2 separate regions of the Homo sapiens genome follow, and region 2 is linked to region 1. The links are contacts of gene promoters, found by promoter capture Hi-C in blood cells and fetal thymus (Javierre and others, 2016). All regions are on one chromosome and are shown on one strand. The core of a region is centred on a gene start or on the middle of the fragment in contact, and the rest is flanking DNA. Distances in the headings are between cores, read along the strand shown.

What was found. Contacts are between HindIII fragments. The CHiCAGO score rates a contact against its expected background, and 5 or more counts as called.
Region 2: a contact is called between a fragment that was not itself captured here and the fragment with the promoter of PLCG1 in region 1, in 3 of 17 cell types (naive CD4 T cells, activated CD4 T cells and total B cells). The highest score is 8.6, in naive CD4 T cells.

Annotation. Positions count from the first base shown.
Region 1 is chr20:41,131,240-41,138,792 of GRCh38, reverse strand. PLCG1 (phospholipase C gamma 1) reads right to left here and starts at 1,250. Exons shown (of 32, transcript NM_002660.3): 1 at 935-1,250. The coding sequence starts at 1,151. It overlaps LOC124904903 (translation initiation factor IF-2-like), which reads left to right and starts at 1,280. Exons shown (of 2, transcript XM_047440629.1): 1 at 1,280-3,091; 2 at 3,501-4,950. The coding sequence starts at 1,454. The coding sequence ends at 2,035. PLCG1-AS1 (PLCG1 antisense RNA 1) reads left to right here and starts at 793. Exons shown (of 7, transcript NR_109889.1): 1 at 793-1,079; 2 at 2,982-3,091; 3 at 3,501-3,654; 4 at 5,148-5,306. RefSeq lists enhancers at 133-212, 361-460, 382-1,166, 1,951-2,735, 4,496-4,545 and 1 more and silencers at 611-870, 991-1,980, 6,659-6,708. The HindIII fragment of the contact is 8,103 bases long and covers 1-2,292 here.
Region 2 is chr20:41,622,954-41,630,506 of GRCh38, reverse strand. No RefSeq gene overlaps it. Among named protein-coding and RNA genes, the nearest start is that of CHD6, 8.4 kb to the right of the region's middle. The HindIII fragment of the contact is 674 bases long and covers 2,904-3,577 here.

The sequences.
Region 1 (7,553 bases), core at 1-2,500:
CCCACTAGAGACCAGCGCAAAAGCAGCCAAGCTCAGGCCTGGGAAGGCGAAAAGGCAGGAAACTAAGAGAAGCCGCTCCCGCTCCCTGAAGCCACCGGACAGAGGACAAAGGGCTAGACTCACAAACTAGCTGCACTCCTGAGAAGAATACCTGACTCCAAGGCGCTGGGGCAGGCCTTTATGGGGCCCATCTCCTGGGAACGTGCTTCCCAGGGCAAGGGGAGTCCCTGCCCTGGCATTGAGTGTCTGCCCACCCACATAGGCCTCCAAAACCCAGCTTTGGGACAAAAGTAGCAGAAAAAAAAAAAAAAAAATTCCAGCCACTGGCTTCTCTCAGGCTTCTCCAAACCAAACAAGACCACCTTCCTCCCTCTCCCCCAGAGGGAGATGAGTAGGCCCAGCTCTGCTCCAAGACCAGCCCTACCCAACATCTGCCTAAGTTCTACTTAGGGAACCCAAAGATTCCTTTGCAAATAAGAGCCCAGCCTGGGGGCCCGGAGAGTTTCACAGACTGCTCTTTCTGGATAAAGAGTGGGCGGGGACCGTCTGGTCAGGCCCCAGGTTCCCGTGCAGGGTGGGGGCCACTGCCTTAGCTCCCCTCGCCGACGCCGCCACCACTCCCAGGGTCTGGGGGGCCCGATGCCTGCACCGCAGGTCTCCAGCCCGCGAGGATTTTTAGGCCTCAGGGCAAAGCGCCTGGAACACTCCCCCCAGCTGGGGGAGGGGGGGTGTCCTGTCAGGTGACCGAGGACCCGGATGCCCCCCGCCCCCAGTGACCACCCGAGACGAAGCGGGGGCGGGGCCCGGAGGGAGTCTGGGAGGGCCCGAAAGTTTGCCCAAGTCGCTGGGGCGGCCGGCCGGGGTGCAAGCAGTCGGGCCGGGCTCCCACGACCCCCGCGCGGGGCGGGCCCAGGCAGGAAGTGGGCGCACTTACTGGCCCCCTCGATCTTGTCGGCGCCCCGGCTCCACGTGATCTGGCGCGTCTCCAGCTTGACCTGGAAGGTCTTCCGCTCGGGTCGCTGCGACTTCTTGGAGTAGAACAAAGTCATGACGGTGCCCACCTCGAGGCTGCGGCAGAGGTGCAGCACCTCGGCGTCCGAGGGCGCGCCGGGCCCGCAGCCGTTGGCGCAAGGGGACGCGGCGCCCGCCATGGCTCCGACGCTGGGGGCGGCGGCGGCACAGGCCAGGACCGCCCGGGAGCAAGCGCAACGGCGGCGGCTGAGGTTGGGGCTGAGGCTGAGGCGGCAGACGAGCGGGACCCGGCGGCGGCTCCTGCAGGCGGACACGGGGCGGGGCCTCAGCGCGGCGGGGCGGGGCTGCCCTGAGGCCCCACCCCGCTTCGGCGCCGGGAACAAAGGCGCCCGCGCACCCGTGGGGAGGACCCCCGCCCGTCGGCCCGCCGCGCCTGCGCCCCGCGACCCCCAGACAGGCCGCAGGCGGGGACGGAGGCGCGATGGCGGCGGGAGCGCGCGCCGTTCCCGGTCGACCCACCCAGCCCTCAGTCCCGCAGAGCTTTCTCACGCGGCCCCGGACACAGCCCGGCGGCCACGAGCGGCCCTGTCACGCACGGCAGCCCCGCCCACAGGCCGCAGGCCCGGCGGCCGGCGCGTCAGTCAGGCGTACTCGCACGGGCGGCCGCTACCCCGCGGTCCCGCACAGACGCAGCCCCCGCGTCCCGAACACCGCCCATGCAGCGACCGGGACGGGACGTGAGGGGATGGCGCGTCCTCCGGGAATGCCCGGCCAAACTCAGTTACCTGGGCGGGCTTCCCGGACAAGGGAGCCAGGACGGGCCGCCTCACACCGGCGGCGGCGGGTCCTCCGCGCGCCCTCTCCCGGGAGGGGCGGGGGCGGGGCTGCCTGCGGATTGGTCGCGGGCACTGATGGACAGCCGACATGTCCCGCCCCCCCGGCAGCGCGGGGCTGGTCCGCAGGCAGTTCTGGCGACGGCCAGACCCACGTCTGTCTGTTCCGCCCCTGCTGCCAGGGTGGCTTTCAGTGGTCCTCTCTTTCGGAGAGTTCCCCCCAAGCGTGAGCACCCCTTACAGGGGCGTTAGGTCCGCGGCCGCGCTGTCCAGTGGTCTGACCTGCAGCTCCCAGGGCCTTTGTGTCTGTCCCTCGCATGGGCCTCTGCACGCTCCGTCCCCACGCGACAGGACTCGAGTCCGATTCGGGGCTCCGACTCAGACCCTACCCCGCAGCGCCCTCCTGCAAATGCTCTCCTGAACTTTGGTTTTCCCCGCCTTGCTTTCTTCCTCCTCCTGTAGCCGCTGCCTCTCGATCTCAGAAGCTTCTCTTCCTCTGCACTCAGTGCTAGGCCAGATCCCAAGGCGACCTGACCTTTCCCCTGGCTTTGCCCAACAACACAGGCACCGGTGACTCCAAACCTGCATCTCCCCTACGTTCCAGGCCCCAGCATCCCACTGCATGTTCCACATCCCCCCCCCTTAGACAGCTCGCCTTCCCTCCCCAAACGATTCCTTCCACAGTCTTCACTTTCTCAGAACGCGGCGCTAAACTTCTCTAAGTTGGAAGGTCAAAAACCTTGCAGCTAACTTTGATTCCTCCCTTTGCCTCACCTCCAATCCATCAAGACCTTGTCACTCAGCCCACAAGCTGAAGGCCCCATCTCCTGTCACCCAGACTACTCACCTTGTTTGGTTTTGCCTGGATCTATCAGTTTGGTTTTGCCTGGATTTATCATGCTTTAAATCTTTAAAATGAAATTAAATCATGATCCCCTACATCCAGGCTAAAACCCTCCGTGAATTCCCATTGCACCTAAAATCCACACTCCCTGCTTGGCCTAGCAGGTTCTATATGACCTGCCCATCTCACCAGTTTCATCTCTCACAAGTGATCCTTCACTCTCCATTCTCCAGCCACAAGGCCTTTTTCTGGTTATGGAATATAATTCATACTCTTTGTCTTTCTGAAGCCATTCTTGAAACTCACCCCTGCAATCTATCTACCCTTGTCAGCACCGCCAAAATTGAGGACACCCACGGTCGCGGTGGAGCCTGTCTGACATGTTGAGCCAGGCAGTGGGTCGGCTGCCAGGCACAGCAGGACAACTTACTGCATTTCAGAGGTGAGAAGCCCAACAGAGCTTCCAGCTGATGCCAGAGAAAGAGCCAGGCTTCCTGGGAATTGTGAGATAGTAGGACTAGACTAGAGTTTGTAAGAGCGTGTGCTCAGGCAACCCACTCAGCTGGATAGTGACCTGGGGCTGCTGCTTCTGACTTTGTCTTGCTGTAGTGGAAACTTGTGTGTTAACGTTGATTTCCTCAAGTGCGTCCCCTAAGAAGCTCAGAATTCAGCATGACATTGAGACCCTTTGTCCTAGCCAGCCTCTGTGGAGTAAGGAGCGGTGGGGTAGCTGAGATGGACTGCCACCTAGTGGCAGGTCTTTACGTGGGCGGGACGGAGCTAGCGTAGACCCTGTGCTGAAGGTGTGCACCTGTGGTCACACCTGATCCTCATAATTATCTTCTAATCAGGAATGATGGTCCACAATTTACTGATGAGGAAACAGAGATTCAGAGAAGTTCTACAATTTGCCCCAAAGCCACATAACATGACTAGGTGGGAACTAGAACCCAAGTCGGCCTGACTCCATGAGTTTTCTGCCTCACAGGAGATCCACTGGCTTAGGTAAGTCCTGGTGGTCAGTAGTCAGTGGGCATGGAGGCTATCTGGTTAATCAGCATGGGTGAGGGGAGGCATGCTCACCGCTGGCCTTGGGCACAGGGAATCCAGCAGAACGTGAGTGCTCACAGAGTGTGGCTTGAACTGGCTTAGGCTTGAAGTTCTGTGGACCCTGCTCTTCTCTGTGTTGGGCATTGACAACATGAGGAGCACAAGAGAGACACAGCGCCAGCTCTCTGGGAGTTCAGACATTAAATAAACACTCTGTTACATAAAGACAATTATGATGAGGGCTAGAAGGAAAAACATTGGGTCGAGATCTCTTCAGACCTCAGCAGAGGTCTAAAGGAAGTGAGTCGATGGCGAGGTGAATTATTAAAGGTGGGTTGGAGAAAAGTACATTCCAAGTAGAGGTAACAGCATGTACAAAGGCCCTGAGGCCAGGAAGAGGTTGTTGAATTTAGGGTTACAAAGCTAGAGTTTCCTGACTGAGGAGGGGACAGGGAGTGATGAGACCAGGAAGGCAGACGGGGGCTGAATGGGGCCCCTCTCTGGCTGTCTGATCCTGTTTTGTACAGGAGGCACCCTCTTAAGTGCTGCAGCCCTCATTGAGCTTACTGTGCTGACTCCGGCAGCCTGTGGGCTCTGATGCACTTTTTACATCCGTTTCTCCATTTTTTTGGGAGCTTCCTAACATGCAGGGTAAGGCTTCCTTGCTTTTACTTTTGCCTCTGGGTCTGGACCTCTAGGGGCTCAAGAAATCCCTGCCAACAAGAGCTTGAGTTTTCAGCCCGTTGCCAGGCCTGTAATCAGGGAACAGGACCCATTTCCTCCTGGGACTTCTGGGCCAGCATCCCAGGCCTCAGGTGCCTCCTTCCACCAAAGGAGGTGCAGGAAAAACAGGGCATGCAGAGGGTGTGGTCTGTGTGGGCTTCCCCCAGCTCAGCATATATATGGGTGCGTGGGTGTGAATGGCAATACGTGCAGCTGCGCTGTCTGGGAGGAGCAGCCCAGCACCCACACAAGCACACGCCTGTGACGTCACCCATGCTAGCCCTGCTCAGGCCTATTTCTGTGAACATGCATGCTTCAGCATGCCCTGGCCTACACTGTACCTGTGCCCATGCCCAGAGTCTGGGGAGAGTCCCAGCCCAACTGCCCCTCGGGACCTGTGGGTTTGGCCTCACAGCTGTTTATTAAATGACCACTTAGAACAGTGGTTGACATATAGTAAACACTATGGAACTGCTTTATCCACATTGTCTCATTTCTTCCTCATTACAGCCCTATAAGTGCTCTTATTATCCCCATTTTCCAGATGAAAAAACTGAGGCACAGAGCTAAAAGGCAGGATTCAAACCCAGGTAGTCTGGCCCCAGAGTCAGTGCTGTTTTGCTTCCCATGTATGTATGAACACTTTATTGTATATCCTCTCTCCTTTGTAAAATACCCCTACCTGATATGTTTTCTCTCTTTTTTTTTTTTTTTTTTTGAGACAGAGTTTCTCTCTCGTCGCCCAGGCTGGCGTGCAATGGCACAATCTTGGCTCACTGCAATCTCCGCCTCCCGAGTTCAAGCAGTCCTGCCTCAGCCTCCTGAGTCTCTTTTGATTTGGTGCTGTCACAGGTTGGGTTCTTTGGATGTGGACTCTGTGACAGGTTAGTGTGCAGTATGTTTATTGGGGAGTGGCCCTGGGATCAACACTCTGGGAGGTACTGGAAAGAAACAGGAGTGGGCACAGGGAAAACTAAACTGAGATGCAGGCCTGATGACAGTCTCAGCCAACTCCCAGGATCTCTGTTGTCTGGCACTAGCCTGGAAAGGAGTTGTAATGTCCTGGGAAGAGCCTAGCCTGGGCCAGATGGCACTCTGCAGCCAAGATGATCTTCGAGGGGCTGACAGCTGAAGATTTTCTGCTGACAGCTCTCCCAATAGTTGGGTCAACAAGTCCTTCTTTGAAGGGGATCTGGGTGGCACGTTGCTATGTCTACCACAAGTGTATTCTTTTTCAGCCCTTTAAAAATGTTTTGAGTACTTAAAAATAGAGAATAAAATATAGAAATAGGAGATGAGATTATAAGGAGGAGGACGATAATATGGTTTATGGGTTAATGTAGCTGATGTGATTGAGAATTAAACATGGCTGAGCTTCCTGATAGCCAAAACAATAACACTTTCTATTCTGTTAACTGGTTCTTTGGAGTAAAAAAAATTTCTGGGGTTAAATTATAAAAGAAGTTTCTCACCTGGATACTTATTTAGTTGAAATAGTGGAGAATGTTCTCAACTGGTTAATAGCAAATGCTGATGCCGTTTTCATTTGTTCCTTGTAATGGCCTTGAGTGAATATCGAGGGCATAATATACAAGTATAGCTCAGTGAAGCCCTTTTCACATTAGAAGGGTGCAGATTTATAGTCTTGCAGTGTCTAATTTGATCCATGTGTAAAACATTGTCCTTTTTCTTTAAACCATTTTTTTTTTTTTTTTTTTTTACTCTTGTCGTCCTGGCTGAAGTGCAGTGGCGCAATCTCGGTTCACTGCAACCTCTGCCTCCCGGGTTCAAGCAAGTCTCCTGCCTCAGCCTCCTGAGTAGCTGGGATTACAGGCGCGTGCCACCATGCCCAGCTAATTGTTTGTATTTTTAGTAGAGACGGGGGTTTCATCATGATGGCCAGGTTGGTCTCGAACTCCTGACCTCAGGGGATCCACCCACTGCAGCCTCCCAAAGTGCAGGGATTACAGGCGTGAGCCACTGCACCTGGCCTAAACCATTCTTTAATTTTTACTCAGTTTCTCGTGTTAGACATCTGAACAGCCCCTCCTCTGGGTTTGTGAGCCAGCCTGCACCTCAGCACACAGCCAGTACTACTTGCTAAGAACTAACCTCAGTGCACCTTGAACTCCACCCACAACCTGCTGTTTAGGCTCCTGACCCCTGGCCCCCAAATCTATCTGTGGCTCCAACTTAGTCATCAGGCCTCACACTTCTTAGGTCATGTCCACCTGCTTTCCTCCTCACCTGGGTTGTGTTATCTGTCCCTCAAGAGCCTCGTGTTCTCTCTCAAGGCAAAATCACACCTGGCTCGGCTGCTCCCAGGGACTGCTGTCTCCATTGACCTTGGTGTATCTCTGCTGATTGGCCCCCATAGTGGGACCCAGATGTTGAGGTTCTCCAGCTGGGCTGCAGATGTATCTTCTTCTGAAAGGTGGCAGGGACACTGTGACTGCATCACTGAGGCAACATATGGCAATAAAGGAAGAGAAGGGGAAAGCCCAGGCCAGGGCAGACCTGCACTTTTCTGTTTTTCTCTCTCCTCCTTGCAACACGCTTCACGGATGCATCCTCTAGAGCACTAAGACAGCACAGCTGAGTCAGAACAAGTTCCCACTCCAGCAGTGGGTACAGAAATGCCAACAGACCATGACAATTCAGTGTGATGGGGGCCATTGGAGCACTGAGAAGGGACACTTGGCTTTACTGAAACCTGTTAGTGTCTGTGGAGATAGAGCAAAGTGAGAGACTGTATATGCCTGAAAGAGATGGCCACTCCAGATACAAGGCAAACACTCATTTTCATCATAGGGTCACTCCAAGTTGTTTTGTGGGTTGTTTTTTTTTTGCAACTAAAATATAAACTTTTTAGAGATGCAAATGTCCACATATAATAGTTTATTTAGCTACAGGTACATACTTTAAATCACATATTTAAAACAATATATTGATTCACGAACATTGATTTTCCCCACACTCACATTTTCAGTAAACTATATTCAACTCTTCACATGAATCTTGGATTTCTGTATTTTCACCATGAGTCGCTTTTTGAGTCATCTAATAGAATCTCTCAAAGCATATCATCACTTTCCCTCCCTTCTAAGTTGAGAGAGAGAGCAAACAACTTT
Region 2 (7,553 bases), core at 1,991-4,490, 490 kb before region 1:
CTGCTATTTGTGTGGCAGCTACTGCTGCACTTTGGCACCTGGGCTTGTGGCTGACAGACAGAGATGGTGATAGCTCTAGACTCTGCAGCCTTCCTTCCAGTGATGTGCCTCAGTTTTACTATTTGTAAAATGAGGGTAATAACTTTTTCTTTGTAAGAATTAAATATTTTATACATGTAAAGCATTTAAAACAGTGCTTGGAACAAAGCCAGAGGCATCACATTACCCAATATTAAGCTATACCATAAGGCTACAGTAACCAAAACAACATGGTACTGGTACAAAAACAGACACACAGCCCAACAGAACAGAATAGAGAACCCAGAATTAAAGCCACACAGCTACAGCCATCTGATCTTTGACAAAGCTGACAAACATAAGCAATGAGGAAAAGACTTCCTATTCAATAAATGGTGCTGGGATAGCTGGCTAGCCATGAGCAGAAGAATGAAACTGGACCCATACTTTTTAACCATATACAAAAATTAACTCAAGATAGATTAAATATTTAAATGTAAAACCTCAAACTATAAGTAAATCCTAGAAGAATACCTAGGACATACCATTCTGGACATTGGCCTTGGAAAATAATTTATGATTAGGTCCTCAAAAGCAATCACAACAAAAACAAAAATTGACAAGTGGGACCTAATTAAACTAAACAGCTTTCACACAGCAAAACAAACTTTCAACAAAGTAAACAGACAACCTACAGAATGGGAGAAAATATTTGCAAACTATGCATCTAAAACAGGTCTAATATCCAGAATCTGTAAGGAACTTAGACAAATCAAGAAAGCAAAAACAAACAACCCCATTAAAAAGTAGGCAAAGGGCCAGGCACAGTGGCTCAGGCCTATAATCCCAGCACTTTGGGAGACCAAGGCAGGCAGATCACTTAAGCCCAGAAGTTTGAGACCAGCCTAGGCAACATTGTGAAACCCCATCTCTACAAAAAACTACAATGTGGTGGCATATGCCTGTAGTCCTACCTACTCGGGAGGCTAATGTAAGATTGCTTGAGCCCAGGAGGTTGAGGCTGCAGTGAGCCATGATCGCACCACTGCACTCCAGCCTAGGCAAAAGAATGAAATCCTGCCTCCAAAAAATAAAGAAAGTAGGCAAAGAACATGAACAAAGATTTCTCAAAAGAAGAAATATGAGTGGCCAACAAACATATATTAAAAAAAAACCTCGACATCACTAATCATCAAGACACAAATCAAAACCACAATGAAATACCATCTTACACCACTTAGAATGGCTATTATTAGAAAGTCAGAAAATAATAGATGCTGGCGAGGCTTCAGAGAAAAGGGAATACCTATACACTGTTGGTGGGAATGTAAATTAGTCTAGCCACTGTGGAAAGCAGTTTAGAGATTTCTCAAATAACTCAAAACTACCATTCAATCCAGCAATTCTACTACTGGGTGTATACCCCCCAAAAAATAAGTCATCCTACCAAAAAGACATGTGCACTCATACATTCGTCACTGCACTATTCACAAGAGCAAAGACATAGAATAACCTAGATGGCCATCCATGGTGGATTGGATAATGAAATGTGGTACATATACACCATAGAATACTATCTAGCCATAACAAAGAATAAAATCATGTCCTTTGCAGCAACATGGATGTAATTGGAGGTCATTATCCTAAGCTAACTAATGTAGGAACAGAAAACCAAATACCAAATGTTCTCACTTATAAGTGGGAGCTAAGCATTGGGTACAAATGGACATAAAGATGGGAACAATAGACACTGGGGACTACTAGTGGTGGGAGGGAGGAAGGAGGGAAGGACTGAAAAAACTCCTATTGTGTGCTATACTTACCACCTGGGTGACGGGATCATTCACACCCCAAACCTCAGCATCACACAATATTCACATGTAACAAACCTGCACATGTACCCACTGAATCTAAAATAAAAATTGAAATTATTTTTAAAAATTTTAAAAGCAGTGCTTAGTTCATATTAATTATGCAATAAAATTAGCTATTATGAACTGTCAATGTAACAGTGCATGTTTTAGTAACATGGGGGCATCATTCTCTTCAACTTTATTCCCTTCTGGCATATATTCCAAAAAGAAGCAAAAGAAGTGGTAGGAGCTGGACTTCCTGGCATCCAGAGATTTAACTACAATCATGAAAGCATAAGAATCATTCACAATAAATGGAATTGGATGGAGAAAAACAACTTACTGCCATCAGTTTCGTTCAAATTGCTGATGGTTGATCTGGAGTTTTCTGTTACGAACAGGCTTTGATACAAGTAGGCAATGCAAGTGATACGGTTTGGCTCTGTGTCCTCAACCAAATCTCATGTTGAATTGTAATTCCCAATGTTAGGGGAAGGACCTGGTGGGAGGTGATTGACTCATGGGGGCAGATTTCCTCCTTTTTGTTCTCATGATAGTGAATGAGTTCCCATGAGATCTGGTTGTTTAAAAGTGTGTAGCACTTCCCCTTTCTCTTTCTCTCTCTTTCTCTCTCTCTCTCCTGCCGCCACGTGAATATGTGCTTGTTTCTCCTTTGCCCGTCCACCATGATTGTAAGTTTCCTGAGGCCTCCCCAATCATGCTTCCTGTCCAGCCTGCAGTAATGTGAGTCAATTAAACCTCTTTTCTTGCTAAATTACCCAGTCTCAGGTAGTTCTTTATAGCAGTGTGAGAACAGACTAATACAGCATGTTTGCTGAATGGGACTGAAATGAGTCATAGAATAACCTAAAATATCTGGATGTAGATCATATGTTAAGAAAACACTTAAAATGTGGGGCAAATTTATACAAAGCACATTTTAAATATACAGTAACTTAATGATGGCTGTCAGTTGTATCACCCAAGGAAATACTGTTATCTATTGCTGCATTACAAATTATCTCCAAAGCTTGGTGGCTTAAAAACAACAATAAACATTTATTATCTCACATAGTTTTCATAGGTCAGAAATTTGAGAGTGACTTAGGTTTTCATGAGGTTGCAGTCAAAATGTTGGCTGGGGATGGATGCAGTCTCATCTGAAGGCTTGACTAGGCATGGAGGATCTACTTCCAAGATGGCCCATTCACATGGTTCCTGACAAGAGGCCTTGAGTTCTTGCCACAAAGACTTTTTCCATAAGGCTGACTGAATGTCCTCATGTCATGACAATGGACTCTTCCCATTGCAAATTACCCAAAACAGCAAGACAGATGCTGCAATGCCATTTATGACTAGCATTGGAAGTTACACTCTGTCACTTCTGCAATATCCTACTGGTTACATACATAAATCAGGTCTATTCAGTACAGGAGAGGGCAGTATAAGGGTTTGAATCACAGCAAGTGAGTATCACTGGGGGCCAACTGGAAGGACAGTTACCATGCTTCACCTCAGCAAAAACATGGAAACTAATTAATTTTTTAAAACTATAGTTTTTTGTTTCTAGTATGTAAAACTGTGTTGCTTATTTTTATTACCAGTTTTCAGACGGTAGCCTCACCAAATTGGTCAGTAATGTTGATGGTAGAATTGCACACATAAAGAAAAGGATTCTACAGCAACTTGAGGCTTAGTAAAAAGCTTAAGAACTTTTTTGTTGCTGTGGTTTTTTTTGTTTTTTTTTTTTTTTGTTTGTTTGTTTGTTTGTTTTTGGAGACAGAGCGTTGCTCTATTGCCCAGGTTGGAGTGCAATGGTGCTATCTCAGCTCACTGCAACCTCCGCCTCCCAGGTTTAGGTGATTCTCCTGCCTCAGCCTCCCAAGCAGCTGGGGTTACAGGCGCACACCACCATGCCCAGCTAATTTTTGTATTTTTAGTAGAGACAGGGTTTCACCATGTTGGCCAGGCTGGTCTCGAACTCCTGACCTCAAGTGATCCACCCGCCTTGGCCTCCCAAAGTGCTGGGATTACAGGCATGAGCCACAGCGCCCGGCCTTAAGCAAGTTTTTATGGCTGAAACTGTCTAATGGTCATTGCAGGAAAGTACACTGCTGAGCAAGAATGAAGGATTTACGAAGCTGTTTCAGGGTAGCGTGACCAGCGTTTTTGAAAAATCCTGCCCAAGAACATTTGAGGTGTGATTTTCCATAAATCATAGTAACTGAAAGGGACCACAGTCATTTTTATATATAACCTTGGATTTAAAAAATCAAAATAGCGGTAGTGCTATACATGGGTGAGAGTGAGAGCTCTGTGGCACTGTAAGAGTTAAATCAGTGAGATTAATACATGAGGGGTAGAGGCCATATATCAGTAGAAGGCACTCCAAAAGACAGAAGGTTCCCCAAGCCAAACACAAGAACAGAGATTGACTTCAGTTAAATCAATGGAATTAATATGTTTCAAAACCTGCAGGTCGACAAAGGGGGAAAGTCTATACAGAACACGGGGAAATGGGAGGCAGAGGAAAGGCTGCGATAATTATATATTAATAACCAATTTGTTGAGCAGTTGCCATGTGCAAAGCACTTTGCATGAATCATTTAATCCACACAACAACCCTATTATTGGAATCATGAAACTGTAAGTTAAGTGACTTTCTTTTTTTTTCTTTTTTTTGAGATGGAGTCTCACTCTGTCACCCAGGTTGGCATGCAGTGGCACAATCTTGGCTCACTGCAACCTCCATCTCGCAGGTTCAAGCAATTCTCCTGCCTCAGCCTCCTGAGTAGCTGGGATTACAGTGGTGTGTGCCACCAAGCCCAGCTAATTTTTCCATTTTTAGTAGAGACAGGGTTTCACCATGTTGGCCAGGCTGGTCTCAAACTCCTGACCTCGGGTGTTCCACCCACCTCAGCCTCCTAAAGTGCTGTGATTACAGGCATGAGCCACCATGCCTGGCCTGTTAAGTGACTTTCTTAAGGACACTAGTGGTAGAGCTGAGATTTGAACCACATCTGTAGGGCTTCAAAGCCTGTGGGCTTAACTAGTCTTATCCAGCTTTGTGCTGGAGAATGGAGCTTCTGGCAGGAGGATGCCTTGTGGCAGATTCACCCCTACAGTAGAGATACAGGGATTGGACCAGTGTAGTTCCAGAATACTGGCTATTAGCATCATCCCCTCAGTTCCAGGTTCCAGAAATCACCTTCTGATCATGTCTCCTCTTCCCACAGAGAGAGAACAAGGTCAGGGTCTGACAAGACAGGCTGGGCTGCTTGGCAGGTACAATTCTCAAGGGAACTAAAAAGGATATTTTTAAGATGTTTAATCATGAAATATTTCAAACATACAGAAAATAATATAAGAGATGGGCCGGGAGCAGTGACTCATGCCTGTAATCCCAGTGTGTGGGGAGGCCAAGGCAGAAGGATTGCTTGAGTCTAGGAGTTTGAGACCGGCCTGGGCAACACAGCAAGATCCTGTCTCTGAAGAAAAAAAAAAAGAGAGAGAGAGAGATGACTGAAAAGGTACCTTTACTGACAGTGCGTTGTGCTTGCTTCACAGTTTTCAAAAACTCTGAGAGATTAAAACACAGAGACTTTATCTAAGCACAAATAGGCCCAAGACCAGTGTGTCTATAAACTGGCTCAGACATGTTTGCAAGGGCAGCATTATTGGAAATAAGTATATGGCTTCTTAAGATATTACTTTGAAAGACAGAAATCAGAGTGACTACATTCTCACACACTTCAGAACTCAGCTCAAGGGCAGCTTTCCTGACCTCCTTGACAAAGGCAGATCCTTCTAGCATAATCTCTCACAGCATCTTATACCCCTCCTTTATAGCACACACTTACCACTGCTGTGATGTTACGTTTGTTCGCATGACTACTGGACTAATGCCTTTCTCTTCTATAGACTGCAAGCTCCATGAGGGCTGAGTTTGTGTCAAATTTTATTCACTACTGTATCCTTGGCATCTAGCACAATACTTGTCAGTAATAGGCACTCAATAAATGTCTTTTCAGTGAACGAATTCAGTTTTAAACACCAGTCTCCTTAGGCATCTACCCAAGAGAAATGACAACATATGTCCACACAAGGACTTCTACTTGAAGGTTTATAGCAGCATTATTCATAATAGTCCCAATGTGGAAACAATCCGAATGTCCATCATTTAGTAAGTGATAAATAAAAGGTGGCATATGCAGACAATGGAGTGGCATATGCAGACAATGGAATGCCATTCAAGCAATTTTAAAAAGTACAAACTGACAAAACACTCTACAACACAATGAACCACACAATTATTACATTAAATAAGCCAGACACAGAAGACTACATATTGTACTATTCTGTTTATACGAAATTTCTCAAAAAGGCAGAACTCCAAAGAAGAAAGCAGATCAATGGTTTCCCAGGCCTGGGGGTGGGAGTGGAGATTGACAGCAAGAGGGAACAAGGAACTTCTGAGGGTGACAGAAATATTCTAAAACTGGATTGTGGTGATGGTTGCACAACTGTATAAATTTACTAAACATCGTCAAACTGTATACTTGCAGTAAGCAAATTGTATGGTATGTGAATTATACCACAATAAAGCTGCTAAAAATGTTTAAAAAATCAATCTCCTTACTTAGTCATTTTATCCCAATTTAGGTTCTGTGGAACATTATTTCTGTGGGGCATTATGCCAGAAACTGCTAGTTGAGTCTCTCAACTCTTTAGTGACAGACCCAATTTTTAACTTGGCACATAGAAAAGCAAAATAAAAGACCAGATTTCCTAGCCTCCTTTGCAGCTTGGCATGGTCATGTGACCAAGTTCTGGACAATGAGACAAAAGTAAAATGTGTAGTATTTCCAGGAAGGTTGTTTAAGGGACTCAACTCCACTTTTTCCACTTTGCCTTTCCTTTTTCCTTCCAAGGACATGTAGACTGGTGCTCCAGCAGCCATCTTGGACCATGAAGTGACCTTGGGAATGAAAGCTAAGGATAATGGAGCAAAAACATTGAAGCCTGGATTCCTGAAGGTACCGGACAGCTGCCATGCCACCCCTGGACGGCCTGCTTCCCAAATTTCTTTTATTTAAGACAGAAATAAACTTTAATCTTATTATATCATTTTCTCATATTTATGCAGCCAAATTGAGTCCTAAGTGATACCAGTTTTTTTGTTGTTTTTTGTTTTTTGTTTTGTTTGTTTGTTTTTTTGAGATGGAGTCTCACTCTGTCGCCCAGACTGGAGTGCAGTGGTGCAATCTCGGCTCACTGCAAGCTCCCTTTCCCAGGTTCACGCCATTCTCCTGCCTCAACCTCCCAAGTAGCTGGGACTACAGGCGCCCACCACCATGCCCGGCTAATTTTTTGTATTTTTAGTAGAGACAGGGTTTCACCATGTTAGCCAGGATGGTCTCGATCTCCTTACCTCATGATCCACCCACCTCGGCCTCCCAAAGTGCTGGGATTACAGGCATGAGCCACCGCGCCTGGCCGTGATACCAGTTTTAATAGGTGTTCAATGAAAAAAGGGTTCTGTGGTCAAATAATTTTGAGAACTATTACATTAAACTTTAACAGATTTCATTAATGTAGGACCTCTCAGGGTTTTTAATATGTGAACAGAAATCTCCAAGAACCTCCAGGAGGGGCTACAGTATACTCAACTTCCCAAACTAA